Regions from separate parts of the Homo sapiens genome. Here regions 2 and 3 are each linked to region 1. Evidence: promoter capture Hi-C in 16 types of primary human blood cells and fetal thymus (Javierre and others, 2016). All regions are on one chromosome and are shown on one strand. Each heading gives the region's core, a stretch centred on a gene start or on the middle of the fragment in contact. The rest is flanking DNA. Distances are from core to core; before and after follow the strand shown. Region 1 holds the start of CD34 (CD34 molecule). Region 2 overlaps CD46 (CD46 molecule). Region 3 has its middle 23 kb from the start of LINC02767.

Region 1 (2,517 bases), core at 11-2,510:
CCAGCTGGGCGGACCCAAAGATGGACAACAGAGGAGACTGGGAACAAAGAGGTCTAGTCCAGGTCACTCTGCAGGGCCACAGTGGGTGGCCCTTAGGATGTAGTGAGAGTACAGAATTGGGAGCCCTAGAGTGCTGTAAGCAAAAGGGAGAGCAATGTACAAAGTTTCAAAAGTTTCAAACCTTCCAAGTGCAAAGAGATGAGGTGGAGAATGTCATTCCCCAAGGAAAGTAATCGAGTATAAATATTTACCGGGTGCCTATTTTTTTTTTAACCGAAGTGAGAGCAAGACCTTAAGAGTAAGGATATGTGTAGGTGAGTGGGGGCAGTGTTCTAACCCATCCACTAGCTTTAGAACTTGGAGCAGGGGCAGAGGAAGAAAACTCCAAAAGGTGACAAGTTTTGAAATTTGTGCAGGGGTGACGGTTTTTGGTAAGGCGAGCGAGGCTGGGCGCAGAGCAAATTCTGTCTACTTCTACCTCCTCCGCGGTGGGGTTGCTGAAGTGGGAATTCAAACTCAGCTTCCCAATCTTAAATGCAAGGTTTTTGTTTGGTTGGTTGTTTGGTTTTGTTTTTCCTTTTCACGGACTGTTCATTCCGAACACCCCTGGCCTGGGACCTGGAGCCTCATCCCTGATTCGCTTCCCTCGAATTCCTTAATGTCCACTTCTGGCTCTCCCAGTCCCTGTGCAAGGTGGGCACACCGGCCCCTTCCCAGCAATCCGCTCCGTGTCTATACTTTCTGAATCAACCAAGAGCCACAAAACTTTTCCTGCTTCTCTCCTCCCCAGTCTCCCGGTTCTGGCTGCAACTTCGCACTCCGCGCCTCTGGCAACCAGAAGAGACCCTGGCATCTCCAAAGCGCTTTATCTCAGTCCATTGGAACCAGTCGTGCTGACCGATTCACACCTCGGCTAACGCACACTCGCGGGGGTGATGGCCTTCCCTTCCCCTCCCACCCCCGTCAGCTCCCAGGTGAGGCGCTGGCCCCGGGGGGAAGCAGCTGTGGGCGGCAGTGCGTGGGTTGGGCAGGGGTCCCTTCCCTCCGTGAGACTCTGCTCTGCTGTTCAGCCTCCCAGAAAGCCTCCACCCTCCCCGCGGCGAAGCCAAGCGGCCGCGGCGCGCGGGCGGTACTCACGCAGCAAACTCAGCAAGCAAAGCGCGGTCCAGCCCCGCGGCATCCTGGGCCCTGCGCGCGCGCCCCTGCGGACCAGCATCCTTCCCGCGCGGCTCCTAGAGAGACGCACCGAGTGGAAGACACTACTCGGCTTGGCCAGGACGCGCTCTTCCCGCCCCCTCCGCCCGGGAGAGGGGTGGGGGATTCTTGCTTTTTTCCTCTCTTCTCCCCTCCCTTTTTAGTCTTGGCAAGGCAGCGCCTCTCCTTGGCTGCTACTAACTTGAGCTCCCCTGGTTGGTCCCAAAGGCGGAGGGCGTTAGGAGGGAGGCTGGGTTGCCGCCGTCGAGGCCAAAAAAGGTGGAGGTTTGTTCGGGCTCCAGATGCCTCGTTCAGCTTTCTGGAGAGGCCCCATCCCACTTCTTCAAGCTCCACTTCCACTTAACTTTTAACCCCTTTGTGGCAGCCTTGCCGGTGGCCAGGGCAGGGGCAAGTTTCCTCCGATTTTTTCCCCACTTTTCTTTCCTTGTGATTTTCCTTTATTTTTAAGTTGTAAGCCAGTAACAATCTTGCAAAAGGAATCTACTGTAAGGACCTCAGTTTAGAAGTGTGAGCATTTCGTTAATCAGGTAAAACTTAACCACAATGTGGCACATTTAGTGATAGCCTCACCAGATCCTGTGCTGTGTGTGAGTGAAGCGTCAGGAGTGAGCAGGTATACGTGACTATAAGTATTCATTTTGGCTGTCCAAACCATTCTTGGAGACTTTTTCTTTCTTTTCTTTTCTTTTTTTTTTCCTGCAAGACCTTTTTGTGTTATGTTAACTTTTTGCTAACTTGTGTTAACTTTTCCTGTGACCTTCCATATTTCCCCATTTAGTTCCCCATCACCATCATCCTAAAGAAAAAGGACTTCCCTGGATGCCTTCTCACCAGTTATCCCCTCTCCAGCCCTGGGTCTAAGCCACTAGGGATTTCACCTTGCTCTCCCATCAGAAAAAGGACTTTCTGTGACTCCATCCTCCACCACTTGATAGATCCTTGAGCTTCCTGTTCCTCACCAGTTCCTCTGGGTGTTGGTTGTACTGAATAGAAGAAACTCTGAGCCGGGTAGGCAGCCTAGTCTTGGGGACGTAGAGACGGGAGAAAGGAGAAGCCAGCCTGGGCAGATGATGGCACCAGGGGAGGATCAGATAAGGTATAACCTGGGAGAGGCTGCTCTGATATCCAGAGCAGAATCATGAAATTATAAATACTCAGTTCAGGCTCTTCCATGATGTCTGTACCACATAGCCTAAAGGGAAAAAAGAGAAGCCAGACCAGCACTCTGTGGTCCTTTCTGATTTCTCCGCAGACACTCTAGCATTATAAAAGTAGCTTTACCTTTATAGTCCATCTCAAACC
Region 2 (2,517 bases), core at 8-2,507, 120 kb before region 1:
GTAGGCATATCATTTAAATACCCAATTTGGTGTCTTTTCATTTAAAGTTGTTATTTATACATGTTAAACTGGGGGATTCAAAACAACACTATCCGATTTCCCTCTTATGTTCTCTGAATTTACCAGATTGCAGTAAAACTGATAGGGTTAAAGTTAAAATTGCTGAGAGGGGTTAGATCTATAAGGTACCTCAATTAACTGTGTCTTTTAATATATAAAAATGTAAAAAGTGAGTGGGTTTAGAATAGAAGAAAAATGTACAAGTACATATCTTCTAAAGAAAATAGGGTTTTAAAACATCAAACTCAAATTTTAGTTAAAGAGCTTACAGTTTAACAAAAGACTTAGAATGAATCCTGGAACACAGACTAAGATTAGGTGCTTTGAAATTTCTGAAAGATAATATACATTCATTTTTACTGATTTTTAAAAACTGTTTTCCCCTATAGTTTTAGAAATAGCTTTGAAATCAAACCTAATAATTTTAAGACTTTTGGTACTCATGGTTTTATGATATATATTCCTTTTATACTGATCATCAGGTTTGGGCTAAGTCATAAAAGTACAAGCTTTACTCATAAGGAACTCAAACTTTTTTCATATTACTTGGTTATCTTTTGAAATACCCATAATCCCTTCACTTGAATCTTAAATCTTGTATTAATGGAACACGATATGCATATTTGATTTATCTATCAGTTGTATATTCTAAAAGTTACATATCTACAACGTGAGTACAAAATATTATCAATGGAATATTTTTACAAATCCATAAGGTTTGCGTAGAAACAAGTTCTAAAGAAAACAAAACAAAGTCGCATTCTGCTTATTTTCCTTCTTTGTTTAAAATATCACTGCATCAGAATTTTTAAAGGTTCATTAACAAGTATTAATCAAACTCTCTCTAGCTAGCAGTTAATGGTTTTTCTGTTGTTGTTTTTTGCTTTTTTGTGATGGAGTCTTGCTCTGTCACCCAGGCTGGAGTGCAATGGCGCAATCTTGGCTCGCTGCAACCTTGGCCTCCTGGGTTCAAGGGATTCTCTGCCTCAGCCTCACGAGTAGCTGGGATTACAGTCGTGCACCACCACCACCGGCTAATTTGTTGTACCTGTACTAGAGATGGGGTTTCACCATGTTGGTCAGGCTGGTCTTGAACTCCTGACCTCAGGTAATCCGCCCACCTCGGCCTCCCAAGGTGCTAGGATTACAGGCATGAGCCACCGCGCCCGGCCTTAATGGGTCTTTTAAAGCTCAACAGTTATCTGACTGTTACACTCCCAAATGAAAGGTTCAATAGCAGTAGTGAACTGAGATTCCAAAATTAATTTGTCCAGTGATTTTTTTTTAAAGCCCATATTTTACAGCATAGGGTCCAACTGACAGTTGCCATTATTAAAATTTTAAAATATTTTGGGAAGGTATGATATCTTTAGCCAATGCAACATAATTAATCCTGCAAATAGTAGCACAACTTGAGGAAAAATAGTCCAGAAAATGGTGTGAGAGACGAAACTCCTAATTGCCTTTGAACTTTAAAATATAAACTGCGTGGGAATCTTTTAGAATAGATGTTACCCTTTTTATGACAGGAACATACTCGATTGGAAATTCAGCATATGTAATGGCTGAATCCAAAGCTAGGCTCTCTTTATGGATCTATTATTTTGTAGTTCCATGTTATTTTGATAGCTGAACTGAATGTGAGGGTGGTTTATCTTTCTTCTTCAGAGTCTAGAGGAATGTTTCTCTGACTTTAATGTGCACATTAGTCACCTGGAAATCTGTTAAAGTACAGATTCTGATTCATTGGGTTTGGGGTGGAGCCTGAGACCCTGCCTGTCTAGTGAGCTCCCAGTGCTGATGCTGCTGCTGTGCCTGGGCTACACTGACCAGGGTGTTGCCCACTACTGATGTGCCTATATTGTTGAAGTCTGAAGAAACACTATGAAGCTTATTGGCAAATTTTTCTAATATTTAAGATAATTGAAGTTTTTAAGATTCCTCATCCATGTGTATCCTTAAAAAAAGGCTATGGGGTAATAAATAGTACTTGGCTTTTCTTACCTTCTTTAACTCTTAAAAAACAAAGATTTCCAGCCGGGCCTGGTGGCTCACGCCTGTAATCCCAGCACTTTGGGAGGCCGAGGCGGGCAGATCACGAGGTCAGGAGATCAAGACCATCCTGGCTAACACGGTGAAACCCCGTCTCTACTAAAAATACAAAAAAAAAAAAAAAAAAATAGTGGCGGGCGCCTGTAGTCCCAGCTACTCTGGGAGGCTGAGGCAGGAGAATGGCGTGAACCCCGGAGGCGGAGCTTGCAGTGAGCGAGATTGCGCCACTGCACTCCAGCCTGGGTGACGGAGTGAGACTCCATCTCAAAAACAAAAAACACAAAAAAACCCCAAAGATTTCCATTATTTTCTTTGCACTGTTTAATGTCCATAATCTTGTCCCCCCAGATTGGCTGTTGTGGCCTTAGAAACTTCTTATAAAGACTATAAAATGTCTGGAGGCAC
Region 3 (2,517 bases), core at 10-2,509, 71 kb after region 1:
CGTATTGTTCAGTTTGTTGCCTTTCTTTTAAAGTGGTTTTATTCCTTGAGGTCAAATTAATTTGGCCCGTAAACTTATGTTCCCTTGGGGCTGTCAGTTATTCTGCGCAGTACTGTGTAGTGAAGGAGCATCTGAAATCTTAGTCTATTACTTCCTGCTGAATTTAAATAAGAGGGGAGGGAATGAGCTCCAAGCCAGAGAGCCCCTGGTTCCACAGAAACCCTCTTGATATGTTCCAGCAACCTGCTATCCCCCTTCCCAATTTAGGATCCCTTTTAGATGCTACTTTCTTACTGTGCAACCCCTCTGTCCAGTATTTTCCTTTCAAAGAAGCAGACTTGGGAGGTGGCCATCCCTTTAGTAGATCCAGCAGGCTTCAGGGTTAAAGGGGCAGCAGAGGATGTAGGATGGATGAACGAATGCCCAAGGGCAGACAGAAGTCCATTTCTGGTCCCATTAGCTCTTATCCTAATAGGGTTTTTGGTTTTCTCTGATTATATTCTTGGAATCTCTGAGGACTTGGTTATGATGCTGCTTGTTCTAGGTAGACAATGGTCACCTTGTGTGTGTGTGTGTGTGTGTGTGCATGTGTGTGTAGAGGGGGTACAAGACCACAACTTTGGAGCAACTAATATCCCACTGGGGCTTCTCCCTTTTCTATTCCCATTCATCCACCCACCCGTCTCCTTCACACACACTGGATCTCTGTCTTCAGAAGCCTTTGGTCTTCCTGGAATTTCTCACTGTTTTATCTTTGGATCATCAGATCCATGGTATATTTTCTCTGCTGTGGTTTCCCCAAGATTAATTTTGGAGGTGGGAGCCAGTAGCCTATGCTCATTGGCCATCTTGTCAGAAAACAATGACTCATTCTTTTGGGGGGTAAATGCTCAGTCTTCGAAATGTCTTCTCCCTCTCCCTGGTCCTCTTCATTGTGATAGTGAGTTTACAAGACCTTGTGCAGCTGTGGAGAGAAGGATATCTTGAATTTACATCATTTCAAATTGCCCAGCTTTCTCCTGCAGAATGGCTGATCTGGGCTTGTGCTCAGCCTCATGACCCCTGGAGGTTTGGCTGTTTGGGGGATTATGCTGGCACCACTGTCAGAGTTTATGGTCTGGTCTGTGACTCTAGATGGGAAGCAGCTAGAGCCCTTTCATCAGACATCAAGCTTCAGCTGGTCCATGGCCCACCAGGCACCAGGGCATGGGGTGGTCCTATACCGCCCCTGCAGGCCATCAATAGATGTAGCAGGGAAACAAGAGCACAGCCTCATGCTTGCCCAATGGTTGCTTGTATGCTCTGTGCCATGTCGGATGTGCCTGTGTGCTGGACTTCTGTTAGGCTGAAGCTTCCAGCCTCCCCTAACCTACACCTGACAGTGTAGTGCCATCCTTCTAATATTCTTGATTGCCCCACATTTATATAGATGCTTCCACAGTGTTTCCCTTAACTAAAACCTGTAGAGTTCTGTACAAACTTCTGTTACGACCTCTCTCCCTTTGCATCGTAAGTATTTATGTTTCTGTCTCCCCAGCTAGAGAGTGAGCTCCCTTAGGGGGGAAACTGTGTAATATTTTTCCTTGCACTTCTCAGCATCTGGCCTAGGGCTTGGCATAAAATAAGCACCAGGTAAATGTGTGTTGAACCAAACTGAATAATACAAACTAAAAACAGATAAGTGCTTTAAAAGAAGTGTTTGGGGGAGAAAGGCTTTATTTATGGTTTGGGGATATGGAATGGTTTCTTAAGAAGGTAATAGTGGAGGGTTTAGACTGATGGAAAGAGAACATTCAGGGTGAGGGGAACACTGTGAGCAAAGGCACAAAGATGGGAAAGCGCAGGATGTTCATTTGTTCCCTTTCAGGGCAGGAATTATTCCTTGGGCATCTTTGCAAACTCTCTGAATAGTTCCTTGAACGTAAGTGGTGCTAAGAATAAACTGCGCCGAGTGGAATAAAATCCCCATCTTCTCCTGCATCCCTCAGAAGTGGGGGTGCCCAGTGGTCATAGAAGACATTAAATCAGAAAGAAACAGGTCTTTCTTTGGTACAGACACATCCAAGATTATAATATTACACACCCTATATAGTCAAGGTTGCTGCAGGAAAGAAATGACATACTCAGACAAGTCCATTGAGGATAATTTAAGGGAGTGCTATTTACAAAGGTGTGGCTATTAAAGGAAACCAACAAGTGGGGTAAGGCACCTTGGCGAGAGCAAAGTTCCATCCCTGGGCATGCTGGGACCAGGGAAGGAGGAGTTACTCTGCATGAGACCGGGGCTGTCCAACCCTTAGATGCATTGCCAAACTGTGTGTGCATGTGTGTGTGCACGTGTGTGTGCATGTGTGTGTGCACGCATGTGTACACATGCATGCATGCAGCAGGGTGATCAGCCCTCTCATCTTCTTCCTCTGGAGTCTCCTGGAAGACCCAGTTGGAAGCCTCCAGGAGCACAGAGCAGGGTGGGGAAGGGAGGAGAGGAGATTGGCAGATGCAGAATATCTAGTACAC

Evidence for each region. The method cuts DNA at HindIII sites, captures the fragments that hold promoters and counts their contacts. A CHiCAGO score of 5 or more calls a contact.
Region 2: a contact is called between a fragment that was not itself captured here and the fragment with the promoter of CD34 in region 1, in 1 of 17 cell types (naive B cells). The highest score is 6.6, in naive B cells.
Region 3: a fragment that was not itself captured here is called in contact with the fragment with the promoter of CD34 in region 1 in 1 of 17 cell types (M1 macrophages); the score reaches 5.5 in M1 macrophages.

The regions. Positions count from the first base shown.
Region 1 is chr1:207,909,865-207,912,381 of GRCh38, forward strand. CD34 (CD34 molecule) reads right to left here and starts at 1,261. Exons shown (of 8, transcript NM_001025109.2): 1 at 1,138-1,261. The coding sequence starts at 1,216. It overlaps LOC107985253 (a long non-coding RNA gene), which reads left to right and starts at 504. Exons shown (of 4, transcript XR_001738424.2): 1 at 504-693; 2 at 791-974. The HindIII fragment of the contact is 7,449 bases long and covers 1-2,517 here.
Region 2 is chr1:207,786,140-207,788,656 of GRCh38, forward strand. All of the region lies in intron 11 of CD46 (CD46 molecule), which reads left to right. Among named protein-coding and RNA genes, the nearest start is that of MIR29C, 15 kb to the right of the region's middle. The HindIII fragment of the contact is 1,381 bases long and covers 568-1,948 here.
Region 3 is chr1:207,980,947-207,983,463 of GRCh38, forward strand. No RefSeq gene overlaps it. Among named protein-coding and RNA genes, the nearest start is that of LINC02767, 23 kb to the left of the region's middle. The HindIII fragment of the contact is 180 bases long and covers 1,170-1,349 here.